Regions from separate parts of the Homo sapiens genome. Here regions 1, 2, 3, 4, 5 and 7 are each linked to region 6. The links are contacts of gene promoters, found by promoter capture Hi-C in blood cells and fetal thymus (Javierre and others, 2016). All regions are on one chromosome and are shown on one strand. Each heading gives the region's core, a stretch centred on a gene start or on the middle of the fragment in contact. The rest is flanking DNA. Distances are from core to core; before and after follow the strand shown.

Evidence for each region. Contacts are between HindIII fragments. The CHiCAGO score rates a contact against its expected background, and 5 or more counts as called.
Region 1: a fragment that was not itself captured here is called in contact with the fragment with the promoter of CA13 in region 6 in 7 of 17 cell types (M1 macrophages, M2 macrophages, total B cells and 4 more); the score reaches 12.0 in M1 macrophages.
Region 2: a fragment that was not itself captured here is called in contact with the fragment with the promoter of CA13 in region 6 in 3 of 17 cell types (M2 macrophages, M0 macrophages and monocytes); the score reaches 8.9 in M2 macrophages.
Region 3: a fragment that was not itself captured here is called in contact with the fragment with the promoter of CA13 in region 6 in 4 of 17 cell types (monocytes, M2 macrophages, M1 macrophages and 1 more); the score reaches 9.3 in monocytes.
Region 4: a fragment that was not itself captured here is called in contact with the fragment with the promoter of CA13 in region 6 in 3 of 17 cell types (M2 macrophages, monocytes and M0 macrophages); the score reaches 10.9 in M2 macrophages.
Region 5: a fragment that was not itself captured here is called in contact with the fragment with the promoter of CA13 in region 6 in 1 of 17 cell types (M2 macrophages); the score reaches 8.2 in M2 macrophages.
Region 7: a contact is called between a fragment that was not itself captured here and the fragment with the promoter of CA13 in region 6, in 6 of 17 cell types (M1 macrophages, M0 macrophages, neutrophils and 3 more). The highest score is 8.9, in M1 macrophages.

What each region holds. Positions count from the first base shown.
Region 1 is chr8:85,974,852-85,978,001 of GRCh38, reverse strand. It overlaps LOC107986954 (a long non-coding RNA gene), which reads left to right. Exons shown (of 4, transcript XR_001745984.1): 3 at 793-920; 4 at 2,213-3,150. Among named protein-coding and RNA genes, the nearest start is that of PSKH2, 93 kb to the left of the region's middle. The HindIII fragment of the contact is 1,098 bases long and covers 781-1,878 here.
Region 2 is chr8:86,048,971-86,051,940 of GRCh38, reverse strand. The region is part of intron 2 of PSKH2 (protein serine kinase H2); the gene reads left to right. Among named protein-coding and RNA genes, the nearest start is that of PSKH2, 19 kb to the left of the region's middle. The HindIII fragment of the contact is 2,595 bases long and covers 81-2,675 here.
Region 3 is chr8:86,125,182-86,128,177 of GRCh38, reverse strand. The region is part of intron 2 of ATP6V0D2 (ATPase H+ transporting V0 subunit d2); the gene reads right to left. Among named protein-coding and RNA genes, the nearest start is that of ATP6V0D2, 28 kb to the right of the region's middle. The HindIII fragment of the contact is 392 bases long and covers 1,072-1,463 here.
Region 4 is chr8:86,105,311-86,108,555 of GRCh38, reverse strand. All of the region lies in intron 1 of ATP6V0D2 (ATPase H+ transporting V0 subunit d2), which reads right to left. Among named protein-coding and RNA genes, the nearest start is that of ATP6V0D2, 8.0 kb to the right of the region's middle. The HindIII fragment of the contact is 3,923 bases long and covers 1-3,245 here.
Region 5 is chr8:86,068,820-86,071,985 of GRCh38, reverse strand. It overlaps PSKH2 (protein serine kinase H2), which reads left to right and starts at 2,318. Exons shown (of 3, transcript NM_033126.3): 1 at 2,318-2,548. The coding sequence starts at 2,364. The HindIII fragment of the contact is 2,573 bases long and covers 311-2,883 here.
Region 6 is chr8:85,244,148-85,246,998 of GRCh38, reverse strand. CA13 (carbonic anhydrase 13) reads right to left here and starts at 1,541. Exons shown (of 7, transcript NM_198584.3): 1 at 1,134-1,541. The coding sequence starts at 1,170. RefSeq lists an enhancer at 737-846 and a silencer at 1,207-1,286. The HindIII fragment of the contact is 11,713 bases long and covers 1-2,851 here.
Region 7 is chr8:86,027,782-86,030,893 of GRCh38, reverse strand. No RefSeq gene overlaps it. Among named protein-coding and RNA genes, the nearest start is that of PSKH2, 40 kb to the left of the region's middle. The HindIII fragment of the contact is 1,592 bases long and covers 790-2,381 here.

The DNA.
Region 1 (3,150 bases), core at 80-2,579, 730 kb before region 6:
GGAATGCAAGATTGAAAATCTTTTTCATAAAAAATTTGACAATGTACCCCTATTTGTTTCTAGTTTCTAGTGTTGCCTTAAGACTATGATATTATTCTTATACCTGATCCTTAATAAATGATCTTTTTGTTCTCTCTCAAAATTTTGGAATCTTCTCTTTATTCCTATATTCTGAAATTTCATAATGATTATCCCTGTTTAAATCATTTTGTTGTTGTTGTTCATTATAGTGGGGACTCAGTGGGCCTTTTAATCTGGATTTCAAGTCTTTAAATTCTAGGATGTTTTGTGATTTATTCTTTTGATCATTTCTTTTCATCTGTCTTCTTTCTTCCCTATGGAACTTCAATTATTAGATATTTGACTTCTGTATCACGTTTCTTTATCTTTGAGCCTTTTTGTTGAAATATTTTTCTGCTATAATATTTTTTATTTTCCAAGACCTTATACTTGCTGTGTTCCTTAATTCAATATCCAGTATCTCTCTGAGGATACATATATATATATATATACATACATATATATACACACACACATATGTATGTGTGTGCGTATTTGAATAGTATATCATTGACACGGTTTTACATGGTTTATGTATGTATGTCCATGTAATGTATGTCTGATAAATAGCATATAAATCAAATTATTGTGAATGTTAAAAATGGTTTTAAAAGTATTGTCAAGCATTTCCGATTTAGACAAAGAGAAACCTTCCAGAACTAACTTAATTGGTTAGCTTAATATAAGAAAACATTTTCTTTTCTATCTGTGATAAAAGCTTTGTTCTTTTAGTAACTTGTGGTTCAAAAAGAGCAATTATAAAAATGGCAAAGCCATGACCAATCACAATCTCTCCTTTGATGAGACTGTGGCTGATGCTCTATACCAGTGATCCATGGATTCCCTGCTTGATTACACAGGTATGTTTCAACCCTGCAGTGAATCAGTGTATATTGTTACTGACAGGCTTTAATCTGGAGATATGTGATGATACAGCCTCATAGCTCTCTGTAACTCTCTTAAGGGGCCCACATCAAAGGGAACATTGTGGTTATGGTAATTTTAAAATGTCTATTGGTTTGTACCTAACAGATAATAGGATGTACCCTGTTCCACTCTACGATTTTTTCCTTTTAAATTTCTCTTACTTTCATCTTCTAGCGCATCTGGATGCTCTGCATAATTGAAGAACTACTCTTGTATCCACAATATACTTGATATTTCAGATCTGGCTGCTTTCCAAATGGCAGACTGGTTTTAAAACTTTCAGTAAAATTTAGTTAAATGAACCGCTTTGTGTTGATATAATAATAACGATCTCTGTTAGTGGTCATTGTTTATTGTCTTTATTGAACTCTGTATTTTTTTTTAATTTTCCTCTTCCAACATGTAAATCTCCATTCTCAGATAATTGCTTACCCCTGCTAAAGTAGTTCCCTATATTAATTTTTCCCCATTTAGATTACAAACTTCTTGAGAAATCAGACTTGATTTAAAAAAAAATTGCTGTATTCCACTAAACAAAAGACCTAATTGATACGTTCTGTTTCCCATTTTGCACAACCTAAAGACTTCTTTTCCTTCTTTGGTATATTTTCCTAAACTTCTGAGGCCCCAGTTTTTTAGACAACATAGTGCTCCTTGTATAGTAATGCTGGTGTTCCTCACCATTATGTGAGGATATCACCCATCAGAAATGAGAAGGGTTTAGACAGCTGGGGTTTTCAATGTGTGTGTAAGTGAGTGTGTGTATGTGTGTGTATGTCTGTGAGTACATGTGTGAGTTTGAGTGCATGTGCATGTATTCTGGTCATAGAGGCACAGCTGGAGATTCCATTAACCTCTTAGTCACTTGCACAGTATGCAGAAGTAGAAGCTTGCTTCTGAGTAGTGTCATTTCTACTCATAGGCTCCTCTGCTTCTGCATTCTTTGAGGAAGCTCCAGAGAAACCTGAGTTTGAATCTTAGCTTTACCACTTACTAACTGTGTGCTGTAGTTATCTATAATAGCAAGATAATATTTTTCCCTTATCATAAGAGTGATGTGAAGCCTAAATGAGGTCATGCGTATAAAGTGTTCAGCATGAATGGAACCTTAACAAACCCCCAACACTTTGTTAAAGAAATGACATGCTTTTTCTAGGCTATTGCTCTGGATATAAAGCAATTTTGAGAAAGGTCTTACTTGGACTCTTTTTGGTGTCATTTTCAGAACAGGGCAGGAAATTATCCAACTTGCAAGAGAATGCTAGCTGAAAATCGTCCCATCTTATGGAAAACCGGTAGAAAATCCAGGAGGTGAAATGGAGAACATGTTCAACTGGAGAATTCTATTTCTTATGCATGTCAAATATGTTTCCTTCTCCTGCACTAGCTGTTCCTTCTGCTGGAAGAATATTTATATGACTGGCTAAACTTACTGTTCAGATCTGAGAGTAAATTTGCATTTCTCAGAGAGTTAGTTCCTGACCACCCAACTCAAAGTACTAACACTCTATCTAGTCCTTTTCTTGTTTGTTTTTCATGTTTATTTTATTTCCCACCACTAGAATCTAAGCTTTTTGAGAGCCGGCACTTTGTCCATCTGGGTCACTGAATCCCAATGAGTTATTCACAGATGTTTTTAGTACATAGTAGGTGAAATGCATAGATAATATTTCAACTAAGAAAGTGAACAGAAGAAAGTTGGTCATTGACTTATTACTAGTAGCTCACTACTCTCTATGTATGAAGACATCACTTACTGATGGTTATGAAGCAGATGCTCAATAATTTTTTTTTAATAAACAGGAGGGCAAGGAGCCAATGTCGTTTGTAGTGGAGGGTAGTCATGGACACTGAGAGTATGTTTTAGACACAATTTATCAATGGCCAGCCTCAGGCTGAGATAAAATATAACAGAGTTTGCCAAGGTCTTTCATGCCCAGGCAGTCAGTGCTCACATGTTCCCTGTAACTGCCTGGGTACCTTTCCCTGAGTCATCAGTCCTGTGTCTTAATTCTTTTAGTAGCACCTGCATTCTGCTCCTTTAACCTTCCATCAATCAGCTCTTATATACTGTACATCTCTTTCTCAAGAAGCCTTGTGCAACGCATGGTGATTTCAACAGTGATGAATATTTCCTTCCCTCTGACTTCTTATGAAACCAGG
Region 2 (2,970 bases), core at 129-2,628, 810 kb before region 6:
ATTGACTCCTAGATACTCTCCAGTTGTCCTTTATGGCTCAGGAATTCTGCAATTTATAACTCATGTTTGAATAATAAGCTTTGGCTGAAGAACTTTTTCTCCGGTTACTTTATTTTCTTCAACTGCATTTTAAACGTACAATCATTTGGGGTCATCTTAATAAGCTCTCCATAAACCTTGTTGCACATATTTTATACTCTTTCAGAAAGATTCAGTTGCTTGTCTTAAAATGTTCCAGAGGAGCCATCTAATTTAACCTTCATTTAAATAGTCTTGAGCTCAGATAGATTTGTCTGGATTCAGGGCCAAATAGATGTCTAGCCAGAACCAGAGGGCATGGCATTGTGAGTGTCAGTCACTGATGTGCTTTTTCTAGACTTGCAGAGTTTATATTTTGTTTTTCCTGTGTTTGAGTATTTGTCAGATATGCTTATTTATTTTATAACTTTTATTTCTGGGATAAATATTTCTCATGTCTCATTTACCTAAATACACTGAAGGAAAAAAAAGAAGAGTTCTTTTACTGGTTTCTTATTATTCAAATTCTGGATTAAGGCGGGGGGCAGTGTTTACGCCTGTAATCCCAACAATTTGGGCGGCCGAGGCAGGCGGATCACCTGAGGTTAGGAGTTTGAGACCAGCCTGGCTAACGTGGCGAAACCCGGTTTCTACAAAAATGCAAAAATTAGCTGGGCTTGGTGGCACATGCCTGTAATCCCAGCATGTGAGAGTGAGGCACTCTCCCAGCATGGGAGAGTGAGGCACGAGAATCGCCTGAACCCGGGAGGCGGAGGTTGCAGTGAGCCACGATCATGCCACTGCACTCCAGCCTGGGCAACACAATGAGACACCATTTCAAAAACAAACAAACAAACAAATTCTGAGTTAAGTTGGCATGGGTGGGGGTGGGAGTGGGTCTGCAGTCACAGTTACTTGGGAAACTGAGGCAGGAGGATGGCTTGAGACCAGGAGGAGTTCAAGTCCAGCCTCGGCAATATAACAAGACCCCATCTCTAAAAAAAGCAAAACAAAACAACAAAAAACAAAACATAGAGTTAATAGGGTGCTAAGAGATTGGAGAATGTGATGTCTATGTATGGACTCTGCTTTATCGTTACACAATGGCAGAGACAATACATGGAAGGATTCCCTTATCTTTCCTTGGAAATACCATCTTTTAAAAACACACATCAATTAGAAATTGTGTTTGAGATACAGCAAACGTATGGGCAATTTTCTCAATGTTTCTCTTTTGCAGAGGACAAAGGACACTAAACTGTAGTGTTTTCCGGGTATACGGTATGTGCTGGTAGAGTCAACCTACAGGATGAGGCTGAGGCACAAAATATAGTTTTTAAGAGCTTGTCTGATCAGGCCAAAGTGGGGACAGCTGCTCTGGAAAACGTCCTAACTTCTGTGGGGCGTGTGCTCTTAGGTCTGGGCTGATACAAAGTTGTTTGAGAGGAATTAACACTGGTTTACATAAATAACATTGATTAGTGATTGGCTATATTGTTGAACTGTGGGGTATGAGTGATGGTGTCCAACCTATGGCACTTTATGGCTACTTGGTGTTAGATAGCGTAGAGCCCACATAGCAAGTGGCTTCAAGAGGTAATTATTTAGCACAAGAGGAGAATGAGAAGTGAAGGCTGTTATATTTCAGTGCCTCTCTTGGCCTGATAATTTAAAGGGGCTTGCATTCCTCAGATTAAATTGTTTCTTTTCTTTCTCAGCAGATAATGCAGAAAGCAAATTTGAATATAAAGCAACAGCCTTCTTATTCCCATGCTCAGAAATGCCACTATGAAGTGCTGCTATTGTATTTAAAGTATGTGCAATTGCTGTAAACACTGCCACTATAAATCCCTGAAATAGGAACTACTTAGCTGTGCATATTGTACTGTGTCATAGCTGTTACGTGTTGAATCTATTTGTAGTCAAATCTATTTGAATCTATTTGTTACATGTTGAATCTATTTGTTCTCAGCTGATTGGGAACAGTGAGGGCCCAGTGTGTTTGAGGAAGTGCACTTCACTTCCTTCCTTCCTTCCTTCCCTCCCTCCCTCCTTTCCTTCTTTCTTTCTTCCTCTTTCTCTCTCTCTCTGCCTTTCTTCCTTTCTTTCTTCCTCTTTCTCTCTTCCTTTCTTCCTTTCTTTTTCTTTCTTTTCTCTTTCTTTCTTTCTTTCGTTTCTTTCTTTCTTTCTTTCTTTCTTTCTTTCTTTCTTTCTTTCTTTCTTTCTTTCTTTCTTTCTTTCTTTCTTCTTTCTCACTCTTTCTCTCTCTCTCTCTCTGCCTTCCCCTCCCCTCTTCTCTCTCTCTGCCTCTCCCCTCCCCTCTTCGCTCTCTCTCTCTCTCTCTCTCCTCTTTCTTTCTTTTTAGAGACAGGGTCTCACTCTGTCACCCAGGCTGGAGTGTGGTGCTGCCATCATAGCTCACTGCAGCCTTGAATGCCTGGGCTGAAGGAATCCTCCCACCTCAGCTTCCTGAGTAGTTGGGATTACAGACATGTGCCACTGTGCCTGGCTAATTTTTACATTTTTTGTAGAGATGGGGTTTTGCTGTGTTGTCCAGGCTGGTCTCAAACTCCTGGACTCAAACGATCCTTCTTCCTCAACCTCCCAAAGTGCTGGGATTACAAACGTGAGCTACTGTGCCTGGCTCAGAGTAAGCTTTCAAAGGGAGGGAAAAGTTGATGATTTCTCAATCCATTCCACTTTCCCCTTCTACTCCTTCTCATTCTTGAAGTCACAGGAACTCTGTGAGATGACCACAGTGTTGCAAACACTGACCTGATGTTGACATAGTTCGTAAAAGACAGCTGCTTTGCCTTGTCCAGCTCCCGTAAATGCAGTATGGGAACTCGTATTGATAACAACAGCACAATGGACAGATTTCTGAGAAGGTTTTCTCACTCATTGGACAAAGAGTTTGGAAGAGAATTTCTGTGTTTGTGTTTGTCTTTTTCT
Region 3 (2,996 bases), core at 18-2,517, 880 kb before region 6:
TGAGGGTTTCACCATGTTGGCCAGGCTGGTCTCTGCCCGCCTCAGCCTCCCAAAGAGCTGGGATTACAGGCATGAGCCACTGCCCAGCTTTATTTTATTTTTTTAGAGACAGGGTCTTTGTCATCCAAACCCAAGTGGCGCAATCATAGCTCACCACAACCTCTAATTGCTGGGCTCAAGTGATCTTTCCACCATGGCCTTCCAAAGTGCTGAGATTACAGGCATGAGCCACTGTGCCTGGCCCAGAAAGCCACATCCTTTTATCAGGCCTTGATTGCTACAGGTTTCCTTTCTACCTAGGAGGCCAGATCCACATCCTTCATCTGCAACATGTAATCTAATTCTTAATGACAACCATTTTGTTTTAGGTGACCAGAGAACTATGTGAGATGTTGGCTAGGTAACAATTATACATACAGAATGTACAAGGATAGGGACATATAATGCATGTTCAGGCTGGGAGCTGTGGCTCATTCCTGTAATCTTAGCACTTTGGGAAGCCAAGGCAGGCGGATCGCTTGAGCTCAGGAGTTTGAGACCAGCCTGGGCAACATGGCAAAGGTGCCTCTCTACAAAAAAGACAGAAATTAGCTGGGTGTGGTGGTGACTGCTTGTAGTTCCAGCTACTCAGGAGGCTGAGGTTGCAGTGAGCCATGATCACACCACTGCACTGCAGCCTGGGTGACAGAATAAGACCCTGTCTCAATTAAAAAAAAAAAAGCATTTCAGGGGTCATTGTTCATGGAAAGGATCGGTGTGTGTGTGTGAAAGGCACCTTTCATTTACGAGTTTCATTGAGGAATTAAATAATTTATAAAAGTACACCAAATATATTTCACACTTTTTCAATGTATGAATTTTCAAATGAAAGTTTTCCTTGATTACATTGGTAAACATTTTTTGTTATACTGTGGATTTGTTCAATCCAGCACTAACCACATATGCTTACATGGGGAAACCCTGTCATATCGCGTGATTTCCTAGTCAGCTGAATTTAGAATATCCCCATAAACATTCTTCTCTCTCTTAAAATTTCACATTTTTGGTAACATTTCTTCCTTCTCTGAAGCTTCCCTTTTTTAAATAGAGGAAGTGAAAATTAAAATAATTTGAAAAAGCAAACAATTTTGCTGTCACACTTGTTTTTCCTTGAAGCAAAATAAAATACTGAAAAGTTACTTACAAGTCAGCATTGCCATAATAGCATATTTTAGAACAAGAATGCTGATAACTTTGCATTTCCCAAGCCCTTGGTTGCTCTGGAATTTTAAGAAACCTCTTCAGTATTTAAGATTCTCTACAATCTTGGTCTAACCCAACTGTTTAGATTAAAAATTCTTCAAACTTAACTTGTCCTTTTCTACATTAATGTCTTGGTTCCTACCCTTCTCCAGAGGTATAAAATTTCCCTTCCTTACCAATCCTTTAAGGCCATATTCTAGTATCATATTTTTCATGAAGCTTTTCAATTGTCTCCAGCTAGAGGTGATATCTTTTTTCTTTCTAAATTTCTGTATTTATATTTATCCTGGGGTGAAATAAATTTTCTATATACATTGGCAGTAGCAGTGATGAACATAAGGACTAGTTAGCTCATTCATTCACAAATATTTAATACATATTTAGTGTGACATAAGGCTTGGATTCCAGTACTAATTCTGCCACTGTAGAGCTGTGTGCTTTTGAGTAAGTCGTTTTACATGTTCATTTCAAACATAGTTATTTACAGATAATAAATAACTATAGGGGAGTGGGAGAGGGAGAGCATCAGGAAGAGTAGCCAACGGATGCTGGGCTTAATACCTAGGTGATGGGATGATCTGTGCAGCAAACCACCAAGGCACACGTTTACTTAAGTAACAAACCTGCACATCCTGCACATGTACACCTGAACTTTATACTATATACAAAAAGATATATATATATATATATATATATATAGGCTGAGCACGGTAGTTCACGCCTATAATCCCAGCACTTTGGGAGGCTGAGGCAGGTGGCTCACTTGAGGTCAGGAGTTCGAGACCAGCCTTGCCAACATGGCAAAACCCAGTCTCTATAAAAATACAGAAATTAGCTGGTCATGATGGTGCATGCCTGTAATCCCAGCTACTCAGGAGGCTGAGGCAGGAGAATCACTAAAACTCAGGAGGTGGAGGTTGCAGTGAGCCAAGATCACACACCTGCACTCTAGCCTGGGTGACAGAGTGAGACTCTGTCTCAGAAAAACAAATAAGTTAATGAATTAAATTAAGTAAATAATACATAAATTAAAAATATATTAAATAAAATATATCTTTATATATTTATGCAAAAATTATAATAGATTACATTTTAAAAGGACAAATTGTGGACAATACATGTATGATCTCACTGTTCTAAAACAAACAATAAGCCCAACTATGCATATTTATATTTGTGTTTAAATATAAACACATGCACATATAAAAAAACATTTTTCACAAGGAAAAAGTTTAGAAAGATATGCATGAAAGTTTTGAGTGGTTACCTCTGGGCTCTGTGACATGAATTCTGAAGTATAGTCTTTACTCAATCCATCGTCTTATTTCTAAAAAGCCAACAATACTAGTACCACTCCATAGGGTTGCTGTGAAAATCTATTAAATTTAATACAGGAAAGTGATTATAAAGGTACTAACTTGTGTAGTGAGCACAAAATACATTTTAGTAAAAAACCTCTTTCATTTTTTAAACACACGTGCTTATTTTCAGTTAAAAAATAAACAAGTTAAAATAAAACTAGGACAATGGATAAGTGTGGATTTCAGTCTCCATCCTGAAAATGAAGGTTATGGGACAGTCTCAAATCTCTTAAACTAAACAACTGGGGAAGGAGTAGTGTTTTGGAAAACAGGTTATTGGGATCAATATCGCCTCCTGGTGGTTGATTGATGCCTTGCCATACAGTTGCCCAAGCCCACCTTGGTACTGATTTGTATCCCACTCAAAACTGTTGTTGTAGCGATGGCATCCTA
Region 4 (3,245 bases), core at 50-2,549, 860 kb before region 6:
CACTCTGCTGCTGCTGAACTTAGGGAAATTATCTGAATTTTCCGAACTCAGTTTCCTCATCTACAAAATGGATATAGTCTACGCTTTCAGGTTGTTTTGGGGATTAAACAAGGTTGTCTGGTACAGTGGCTCACGCCTCTAATCCAAGGGGTTTGGGAGGCCAAGGTGGGAGGATTGCTTGAGGCCAGGAGTTTCAGACTAGACTGGGCAACATGGCAAAACCCCAACTCTACAAAAGAAAAAAAAAGTTAGCTGGGTGTGGTGGCACATGCCTGTGGTCCCCATACTCAGGAAGCTGAGGTGGGAGAATTGCTTGAGCCTGGGAGGTGGAGGCTGGAGTGAGCTGTGTTCAAGCTACTGCACTCTGGCTCAGGAAATAGAGTGAGATCCTGTCTCAAAAAAGAAAAGAAACAAACAAACAAAAAAAGATGATTCAGGTAGGTAAAGAGCCAGCATAGAGAATCCACCACAAAATATTGTTTTTTCAATTGTACCCACCTATCTCCAAAATAAATTGCTAAGGAATTCAGCTTTTATCCTCTAAACCAGAATTTTTCCAACTAACATATTGGAATCAACCATCAAATCTGGTAATTACTCAGACTTTTAATAAATACACCGGAAGATGTACAACCAGACACTTCTTTCTCCATTTTTGCTAATATATTGCCGTTCTCAGGGTGTTGAAACTTCAAAGTCCTCTTTGGTGCTTTATTACTCCAAATGCCCTGCATTTCTTCCCTGATTTCTGCTGCTCACTCCCGTTTTGAATAACATCTGGCACTTCGATTACTGCAGCAATCTTTGAATCGATTTTCCCAGGCTCATTTCTCCTCATGTGCTCCCCGCCTCAAGTTTAATCTTTCCTAAGAATTGTTTTGGTACTGTAATGATCCTAAAAATAGCTTGCAGCCACTGAAAAGTTTTAGGCAGATTAAAAACAACTTTTATAAAATTTGTAGAGCGTTTTACCATTGCCAGAATGGTTTTAGTATACATAATCTCTTAACTTTAACAATAATCCTATTTCATAGATGAAGAAACTGAGGCTCAGAGAAGTAACTTGTTCCTGTTTTCCACGCTGGCAAGTAGTTAACTGAGAATCATACCTGACTCTTGTCCTCATTCAGTGTTAGCGTCAGGATCTTGAAACTTCAAATCAAACCTTCAAGGTTTTTCAGAGTTTTCCCAGCCTGAATTCCAGCCTTCTCTCCAAGTATTCTAGTATTGCAGCCTAACTGATATACTCCCCATCCACAGGCTTTTATTTTTTCCCTTTTTAAATTCATTTGTTTTATCTGCTTGCTGAATGTCCTGACATCTCAATTCTTCTCCTCCTGAAACCCCATTTCATGGCCTTTTATCAATCTATTATTCAAGATTTGGTTCACCTTCAAGTATATCTGCTATCAATAGGTTTGAACCATTTTTGGATTCTGAATTTTTATCTCATTTTACTTATTTGTGACATCCTATCAACTACACAGTTGTCTAGGTAGTAAATGGTGTCATTTTTTTTTTAGACAGATTCTTGCTGTGTCACCCAGGCTAAAGTACGGTGGCATAATCATAGCTCACTGCAACCTTGAACTCCTGGCCTCTAGCAATCCTCTTGCCTCGGCCTCCCAAAGTGCTAGGATTACAAACATGAGCCACTGCATCCAGCCTGTTCTTTTTTGTACTCTCCACAGCTCCAAATGCATTTTTTTGCCACATAAATGAGCCTCAAATATTAATTTGTGATTAAAACTTAAGATCCATGTAGCAGTGGCCCCACAGAACTTCATTATACAGTCCAGTAAATCTTACTAGGGTTGAAAATCTTCATTTTAATTTTTACTTACCAAAATAAATATTTTCAAAACTGGTGCTCTCTGAAGAACAGAATAAACTAAATGGATTCATATCCAAATGCCACTATCCAAAACCATAAAATGGAAAGAACTATTTCAGGAATTCCAAAGTCTAGCAGAAGAGGGAAAACAAATTCTTGTTGTATGTAAACTACAGTGCAGGGGTGTATTGTTAAGATTTACAATTTACAAAACATCTTCAGATATTTTGGATCCTCCCAGTGAACTGGGAGTTAGGCCACGGAGATACCATCTAAAGATGAGATAAGAAAGCACTTATCAGTGCTCACGCTTGTAATCCCAGCATTTTGGGAGGCTGAAGCAGGAGGATTGTTTGAGGCCAGGAGTTCAAGACCAGCCTGGGCAACAAAGTGAGACCTTGTCTTTGCAAATGACAAAAAAGTTAGCCAGGCTTGGTGACATGCACCTGTGGTCCCAGGTACTTGAAAGGCTAAGGTGGGAGGATCACTTGAGCCTAGGAGATTGAGGCTGCATTGAGCCATGATCACGCTACCCACTACTGCATTCCCTGGCTTGGGCAACAGAATGAGACCCTGTCTCAAAATAAAAAAATAAAAATAAAAAAAAAAAGCACCATGTTAAAGGTTAAGCACTTGCTTAGAATCCCAGAACCATAAAGCAGAAGATCCAGGACTTGAACCCAATATGTAGATATTTCCAGTGTGTATTTTCAGATTCTTACTACATGCAAAATACACTCTTAGGCTTAGGGAGGTAGGAGAGAGAAAAGTTTAAGGTGTACTTTCTGCCTTTAAGAAGTTTACAGGCAGCCAGGCACAGTGGCTCACGTCTATAATCCCAGCACTTTGGGAGGCCGAGATGGGCAGATCACGAGGTCAGGAGATCGAGACTATCCAAGCTAACACGGTGAAACCCCATCTCTACTAAAAATATAAAAAATTAGCCGGGCGTGGTGGTGGGTGCCTGTAGTCCCAGCTACTCGGGAGACTGAGGCAGGAGAATGGCATGAACCTGGGAGGCGGAGCTTGCAGTGAGCCGAGATCGCGCCACTGCACTCCAGCCTAGGCGACAGAGAATCCATCTCAAAAAAAAAAAAAAAGAAAAGAAAAAAGAAGTTTACAGGCTAGGCACTCGCTGGCTTACACCGGTAATCTCAGTACTTTGGGAGGCTGAGGTGGGCAGATCACTTGAGCTCAGGAGTTCAAGACCAGCCTGCGCAACATGAATAAACCCTGTCTCTACAAAAATACAAAAATTAGTCAGGAACAGTGGCCTGTGCCTGTAGTTCCAGCTACTCAGGAGGCTGAGGTGGGAGGGTCGCTTAAGTCCGGGAGAGGTAGAGGTTGCAGTAACTGAGATCATGCCACTGCACTCCAGCCTGGGTGTCAGAGCCAGACCGTCTTAAAAAAT
Region 5 (3,166 bases), core at 348-2,847, 820 kb before region 6:
TTACTTTATGAATTATTCTTTCTGAGATTAGTCATATTAAAAGGATATACTTATGACCATTTTAACATTTCAGAGCTTAGTGGAAGTCCTTGAAAGTGAAAGTTTCAAATGCACAGGTACTTAAATTTTGTCTCCAGGCAAAGTATTTACATCAACAACACTTCTAGTTAATAGTTGGGGCTTTCCAAAAGAGAACTAATCAGTGGTTTCATCAATGTTTTCATTTTTTAAGGGCTTTAAAATCAGCGACTGTGTTTTCCAATTTTCAAGGAACATGGTTTAGACTTAGTGGGAGGCTTGTGACAAAGCTTTCTCTGCTGTGCGGCCAGCTGCAGACAGGACAGAAGAGGTTTCTGCAGCCTACTATGAAGGCCCTCACTGCTGGGAGAAGGTGGACAGGCAGAGGGACTGCCTGCCTCGTGGAAGTGTCTGGCGCCTTCACTGCTGCCCAGGTTTAGGTTTTATAGCAGATGCTTCCTATTTGCTGTGCGATCCTTATGCAAACAATCCTTACAACAGGCTCTCTGAGGAAAAAATTTTGTGTTTTTTTGAGTAGTACCTTAACATCTGACTTCAGTTTGTTCCCTTTATTTCTCTCTTCCATTCTGTTTATACTGTTAGGTTGGTGCAAAAGTAATTGCAGCTTTTGCCTTTTGAGATGAACTCTTGCTCTGTCACCCAGGCTGGAGTGCAGTGGTGGCGCGATCTCAGCTCACTGCAACCTTCACCTCCCAGGTTCAAACAATTCTCCTGCTTCAGCCTCCTGAGTAGCTGAGACTACAGGCACGCACCCCCAGGCCCATCTAATGTTTGTATTTTTAGTAGAGATGGGGTTTCACCATGTTGGCCACAGTGGTCTGGAACTCCTGACCTCAGGTGATCCACATGCCTTGGCCTCCCAAAGTGCTGGGATTACAGGTGTGAGCCACTATGCCCGGCCTTGCCTTTACTTTTAATGGCAAAGACACAATTACTTTTGCTCTAACCTAATAGATAGCCTATTCTGCAAATTAGTTCAAAAGCTCGAGACATATAAGAACGAGTTGTTTACCTGCTTAAAATAAACCTTCTTTCCTTGTTTCTTAGTAGTTGGAGAATTCTGAGGGTTCTTTAGGAAGAAAAGTCCATTATTTGGTAGTTATGCTCTCTTTGCAGGATGAACTAATTTTCCCTCAGCTATATGCAAGCCGTATTTTAAATTTTCCATCAAAATATAGCTCTGGGAAAGTTCATGACTAATTTATTCATCACAGACATTCCCTGTTAAGCCAAACTACAAATTAAATGAAATTAGAAAGGAAATTACACAAATTGAAGTAGCATTGGCCTGGAAATCGGGAAGCAGCCTCCAGTTCCGGTTCTACAACTTGGGAGGCATGTGATCTTGACTTGCTTGGTCGTGACTGGATTTCATTTCCCACACATCATTTGTGTGTGTGTGTGTGTGTGTGTGTGTGTGTGTGAATGAATATAATTGACAAATATCAATGAAATCTAATCAATATAGTGATATAATCAATATACATTTATCAAAATGATAAATATTTATAAGTATTATAATACTGTGTGTGTATAATATATATACACACATTCACATACATGTATAATATGTATAAATAATACAAGAATGAAATATATAGAAAATGTAAAGTTACCATACATAATATTTATATTTATTTATATATATTTATATCTATATACAGGTTTTCTCACTATATTTGTATATACGGGTTTTGTATATACACTGTATATGTATATACAGGTTTTCTCACTGTATTTGCTTAGGGTGTTCGTCTGGGTTCTAGACATCTATCGTGGCCCTCAGTTTTTCTCTCTTAGATGGATTACCCGGAAGATGAAGGTCATGAGTGCCAGACACAGGCCTTTGTCATCCGTTTAATGCAATAGAAGGCAGTGAAGTTATACTTTAAATATTATAAGCTCTTAGAATTTTAAATATATATATATATGTATGTTTAATGTTCATGTCATCCGAATATGAGCTCAGCGAAAAGTTCTTTAGAGGGACGATATCCTTTATACAATCGTATAATTTTATATGTTCACTTTGTCAGGTTAGAGATGCAGAAAGTGAAGCCCAGACAATTAGGCGCAGGTTCTGCCTGTTGGTTGACTTTGCTTTCATCACGTCAGATTACACACACAGACGGTGACCAGCGATGATCCAGGCGTCTCGGTCGTTAGCGGGTATCCTGGGGGCTGTCTCCCTGACCACGACCCCCCAGTGGGGTTTCTTTCCGAGGGTCCCGCCCCTCGCAGCTGCTCTTTGATAAAGGGCGGAGGAACGGGGCTGGCTGCTTCCCGAGTCCCCAGGTCCCGCGAGCGGCGGGCGTGTTGCGGGTATGGGGTGCGGCGCCAGCAGGAAGGTGGTCCCGGGGCCACCAGCGCTGGCTTGGGCCAAGCACGAAGGTCAAAACCAAGCCGGCGTCGGAGGCGCGGGGCCTGGGCCCGAGGCGGCGGCCCAGGCGGCGCAGAGGATACAGGTGGCTCGCTTCCGAGCCAAGTTCGACCCCCGGGTCCTTGCCAGGTAAAGCGCCACGTGAGGAACTGGCCTGGGACTGGGCTGACAAAGAAAAACCCCTGGCCAAGACCGCCTCGAGGTTCCCTTCAGCTTGACTCAATTTTGGACAGGGTTCTTTCGGATGATAGGCACTGATCTCCCCCTTTCTCTGCCCTTTTGAGATGTAAATCTTCTACAACCCAAGAGTGTCTTTTTCAGGCACCTGGCAGCCATCCCTTTGAAATGTAGTCATCAAGAGAGTTAGGGCCACTGTCTCCCAGTCTCTGTGGGAGGGCAGGAGCCTAACTTCCATAAGGGCCAGGTAGCAAACACAGATCTCATTGACCACCTCTCCCTAAGCTTCTCCCATTCTTTTCCACTGGCTCACCCCAGCGCTTAAAAACTTTCTTGCCTTTTGTTTCGAAGGCGTCCATTTTCTTTCCCCTGTTGCAGAAGCCTCGACTCCTATTGCAATAGTCTGGGATAAGCCTTCCTTGCTGTGTTCCATAAGTGCCCAGTACAATTTCTCTTTGACATCTCTGAACAGGGAGTTCAGAGGATGGGAAAAAAGAGAGCAGGAGCAGCAGCAAACAAGGGAAGGAATTCCTATCTTCGGAGGTGGGGGGTGGGGGTGTGAGAGGACTG
Region 6 (2,851 bases), core at 292-2,791:
GCTACAATTAGAAATAGAATTTTTCTGTTAGTTTGTGAAATTAAACTTTCTATAAAATTTGACCATTCTATACTGTTTAATCATGTACATGCTAATAGAAGGAAAGCATTATTATTCACAGCCTTAATTTTTTTCTTTATTATGTATTTACTTCTTAAATTGACAAAAATTGTATATATTTATGTGTACAACATGATGTTTTGAAATATATGCACATTGAGGAATGGCTAAACTAAGCCTTAATTTTGACAGTTATTCACTATAAGGCTTTTTGGTGTCACTGCGATTATTTCAAATAATTATTATTTAAACAATCAGTTCAGTTTAACGTAGGAACAAGAAAAAATGTTTTACTTTTGATAATGTGTGATATACAAGAAGAAAAGTGTATGTCATTATTATTTATCCTATTAATACATTTCTATCAATGAATTATAATTTCAGTAATCCTTTGCTCACCCTGCAAGGATGAGCGTGGAGAAGAAGAGTGGAGAAGTAACCCACAATGTAACTTAATTTCCCAGCGAGAACCTGAACCCTTACTAAAGTCCCCAGTAGTAGTCAGCCAACTGCAAATTGCTGTGGGAATATTTACAGTAACAACTATTAGGAAACATGCAGTATTTTGTTTGCCACGAAGCCAACTTAATCTTCAGTGTCACAATGCAAGTTAAGATTTCCTAAATATATTTTTAAAGATTTTCTATGATTTGTTTCTCCTAAGTGAATAGTGAGCTTAAAAGACTGAAAGCGAACTTGTCCTTATTTCACTGAAGTGTGTCATCAGACTTCTGATCTCCAAGCCTGTAATTGATACGTGGCTGTTACTAGGCAAAGTCCTTGGCTTTTCAGATGAAGGTGAACTCACACGTATGAACACTTGGGAGTTTGGGGAATCCTGACAGAGATAACACACACCAACGCTCACATCCACCACCAACAACCCGTCTACCCTGACAAGACTGCTCTCCGCTTCTCGCACTGGGCTCCCAGGAGTGCTGCTTAGTTTAAAGAGGAACCGAAAAAGTTTCTCAATGTGCGAGCCCAGTGTGTGGTCAGCGAGCGCCGGGGCGTCGCGCTAGTCCTCTCGTCCCCCGCACAAACCCCCCCTTGGATCAGGAAAAGGCGCTCACCGTTGTGCTCGCGGTATCCCCAGCTGAGCCTCGACATGGTCCCTCGGGGTGGAAGGAAGAGAAAGATGTGACTGAGCAGCGAGAAAGAGGAGGGAGCGGGGAGGGGCCCGGGAAGGAGCCTGCTAGGGCGGGACCGCGGGGCGCCGGCGGCAGGAGTGCGAGACCGTGAACCCGGTCCGGGGCGCTCCCGCCTGCGTCCTCCAGACGGCAGAGGCGTGCGGGGAAGGCGCCCGCGCCGCTGGCTGACTCCTGGGGCGCGAGTCTCTCTTAGTTTGGACTCGGGAATGAGAGATTTGAGTTAGAGGGAGAGACGGAGAGAGAAAGGTTTCCGGGGGGGATCTCCTGCCTTCTGAGGAGTCGTCACTCGGGAGAGGAAAGTGTTGCCTAGAGGACTTCCAGGAAGTGAATGAGTCACCAGAGCCTGGAACTGCCAGGCTGGGAGGTGGGGATCCCGGTGGAGGCGTAAAAGAGGTCGGTGATGGTCGTGGCAGTGATGATTACAAATACAAAACAATAATGACGATGGTAATCACCACCACTGAAAAATAACTACTTATTAAGGGCTTATCGTGGGCGAGGGTCTTAGCTAAGACGTGTACCCACGTTTTCCCATTAGATCCTCTCAGCATTTCCTCGAGAAACACGTGGCTTAAGTTAGAGACACTATGTAACCTGCCCCGGGTCGCTCAGCTAAAGCGGGCGGGGTCGCTGTTAGAGAGGACCAGCTCCCGGTCCTGGGCTGGCTCCATTGCCCATTCATCCTTTCCTTACCTCTTCTCACTCTGCAGGCTTGTGGCTTGGTGAGTGAGGAAACCAAAACCAGTTGTTGAGATTTGGTCCCAAAATTCTGCTGCCCTCCTGACCCCGCAAGAAGGGTTTTCAGGACATCTGCCCTGGATTCTTGGTGGGCTTGTTACCCTAGGACTGGAGTCAGAACTAGCTGCAGAGTCTTGAATTTCTGGCCTGGAGTCGTGAATGTTCTGGGTTCAAAGTGAAAAATAAAAATTGGGTACATGAACCACTTTCTACGTCCTTGTCTCGGGTCAACTGCCTCATATTTTATAAATCCAAGCAACCTCTTTGTAAGGAACCTAGTAAACCAATTTTCAGTAACTCGGATGATTTGGTATGTCAAGATGAATAATGCTCTTAACGTTCTAAGTAAGTATCAGTTCTTGACACCCAATAATAGTGGTTACATGAATGGATGAATGACTGAATAGACCAAAATTGTTAAAGAAATTTTGGTTGGTGGGTCTCAAATACTTCCCAAATTGTTACTTTTATTGCTTGGGTACACAGTTTGTAACCACCCAATGGGTTTACCTTGCCCACTGTCAAGACACAGCTGATTTATCAAGACAGGGGAATTGCAATTCATAAAGGGAAATTCACGTAGAGCCGGCTGTGCAGAGGACTGGAGTTTTATTATTACACAAATCAGTCTCCGCAAGCATTGGGGATCAAAGTTTTTAAGGACAATTTGGTGGGTGGAGGAGAGCCAGTAAGTCGGGAGACCTGGTTGTTTGGGTCAGAGGTGAAATCATAGGGAGTCAAAGCTGTCTTGCATTAAGTCAGTTCCTGGGTGGGGGCCATGGGATCAGATGAGCCAGTTTATCGAGCTGAGTGGTGCCTGCTGATCCATCCAGTGCAGGGTCTGCAACATATCTGAAGCACTGGTCTTAGGCTTTACAATAGTGATGTTATTCCCAGGAGCA
Region 7 (3,112 bases), core at 336-2,835, 780 kb before region 6:
TTCCAAGCCTGCCTACACAAATGGAATATTGTCTGCTGCAGTTGTATGGTCCCAACGACAACTTTGCTCTTTTCTTCCGGATAAAGCAATCTGTGGCTCCCTAGAATTCCCACCCTGTCTATGAATGCAGCTTGGCAGATAAGGCGGGTTTTGTGCCTCCCTCAGGGAATCCCCCTCCACAATTCTATCCCCCATCACTGGTGACATGACTTGCTCAGTTTGGCCAATGCCCTTTGTGAGTCCCTGGAGTGTGATCCTTGCTGCTCCCAGCCCCACAAGAGCTCATATAAGTTGCATTCCAGATGTTTCCAACACATTCTCCATTACTGCCACACACCCAGGGCACAGGGGCCACTAGCCCCCACCCCCACCCCCACTCTGCCCAGCCCTCACTTGTTATCTCCCGGCAATCTAATCCTTTCATATCCTGGCCTCCAAAAGCTATGAAGCTAAACAGAAATTGCTTTTTAAGAGTTTTACTCTTGTGTTGACTTCAAAAGCCAAACTTTACATAATATTTAAAGAGGTTTATTTTGAGCCAAATATGAGTGATCATGGTCTGGGATATAGCCTCAGGAGGTCCTAAGAACGTGTGCCCAAGGTGGTTGTGTTACAGCTTTGTTTTACTCATTTTACGGAGACAGAAGTTACAGGCAAAGACATAAATCAATATGTGTAAGATATACATTGGTTTGGTATGAAAAGTCAGGACATCCTGAAGTGGGAGCTTACAGGCTACAGGCACTTTCAATGATTTTCTGATTGGCAATTGGTTGAAAGAGTTAAGCTTTGCCTGAAGAGTTGAACTCAGCAGAAAAAAATCTTGAGTTAAGATAAGGGTGGTTGTGGAAGCCAAGTTTCTTGTTACATAGAAGAAGCCTCCAGGTAACAGGCTTCAGAAAGAATACATGGTAAATATGTCTTACATGATGGACCTTAAAAGGTGTCAGACTCTTAACTGAAATCTCTCCTGGATCTGGAAAAGACCTAGAATGTAAAGGAGATTCTCTACAGAGGTGGCTGGAGTGCAGAGAGGGCGAATAAAACCAGCATAGCTATGGGTACATTGAGTCTGCTGGCTCTTCATGTGGGCGTGCCAAGAGTCTTTGAAAGGCTGAAGAGGCGCAGCTCCCTTGCTTGCATCTTCCGCTTTGACTGCTCCTCTCTGACTTACAGACCACTTTGCCCCGTGCACCAACTCCAGGCCTTCTCTCTGCTCAGGACTCCTTTCTCCTCTTTAGCTCCTTGACTTCACTCCCCAGTGTTCCATACATGATGGACCACATGTATTCTGAGAAACTGAGATTCAGATGGATTCTTCATGATTTCATAGAACCAATCAAGACCCAATTGGAATCACTCTTTTCAGCCTAGCTCTCTATAGTCACTTTTCCCATAATTCTTTCCCACAGTTTTTAAGGCATAGCAATAATTAATCTTGATTAATAGCCAACTGATCAAGGAGTGTGTTTAAATGTAGTGAATATTTTCTTTAAATAGAAATTTTAAAAGGTGAGTTATGTCCACTGTCTTAGGAAACAACTCTATACTTTAGTAGTCATGTCTAGAAGCCAAGCTAAATATACATCTGGACCATACAAAATTGAGCAGCTGGTTACTATCTTATTCCAGAACATTTTCTCCTCTCTTTCCTGGTTAACTATTGCTCACTTTTTATGTCTCAATTTAAATGTTGTTTTCTGAGAGAGACTTGATTGGAATCCTTAGTCTCTGTTTTTGTTTGTTTGTTTGTTTTTGTCCAGAGCACCCATATTCACTATTGCATTTGTACAGTTGGAATTATATATTGGTTTGAATGATTGCTAATTGAGCCCGTCTTTTCCTCTAGACTGTAAAGTCTATGAAGCTCTTATTTCCTCAGGATCTCACACAGTGCTTGGTACCTGGAAGGCACACTAAATATTTATTATGTAAAGACATTAATGAATCTTGCTCCTTTAAGAAATTATTCTGCCAACTAACAGCTACGGTTATAGGGAGAAATGGCTCTTTGGGAGTAGCGCAATATTTGAAAATACATATTTGACTCCACTCAAACCCACACAGCTCAAGACCAATTTCTTTATTAGCCAAGAAAATGTCTAAGTTCTAATTATTAATTTGTAAGTGAGTGCCCAGTCATCAGAGGTTGATGATGAACTTGAAGCTGAAAACTAAATAGAATTTAAAGGTAACAGGTTGGTTGAACCTGGGGTGGGAAAGAAAGCATCTGTTATTTTGTGTATGTAAGACTTTATGTTTCACAAGCATAACAGAGAAGCACATGTTGACAGAAGGAAATTGAAATGCAGAGAATAGCAATTGCAATCACAGTTTTCCGTTGCAGGGCTTACAATATTGCCAATATTTACTGACAAGCTTTTGGGACAATAAATAACTGAAAAAATAGTGATAATAAAGCAAATAAGAGCAATACTTGTGATATTCAAGGAAACACGCAATAGTGCAGACAAGAGTAATTCACTCTCCCTAGGCGAGTCAAGTAAGGCTATAGAGAGAAGGTGACACAAACTAGGTCCTCAAAGATGAGTAGGGGCTCACCACCTGGCAGAAAGAAGAAAGAGAATTCTAGGAAGAAGAAATGTATGCATATGGCATGATGATGTTTGGGAGCACAGCTTATCTGAAGATCAGAGAGACGTTGAGTGTGAAGGGGTAGGGGCAGGTGGTGGGCAGTGATAAAAAGGGAGGCTGGGAGGTGAGGCTGTGGCTGGCCTGGGAAGAGCCTTTCATGCTATGCTTTCAGGGATGGCAGTGGAAAAACAGTTTACATTACAAAATAGCATTGCAATTAACTACTGTCTGGAAGAGGATATATTTTCTGGCTGGCATATATCTTCCCTTTTGAGGTTTCCACACTGGAAAATAAGGAAGAGAACCATTTAGCATAAATATGACTGCATTTGTTACTCTGGCCATTAAAAGAGTCTCAAATGCTGTAACCAATGTTGTGGTTCCTCAGCAGAGTTCTGGGATGAGACAAGTAGCAGTACGGCACAGCAGTTCAGAACATAGAAGTTTGGCTTTAGATGATCTGAGTTTGAATACTGGCTCTCTCTTGACTAAGCGATTTAACCCCTTAAAGCCTCAT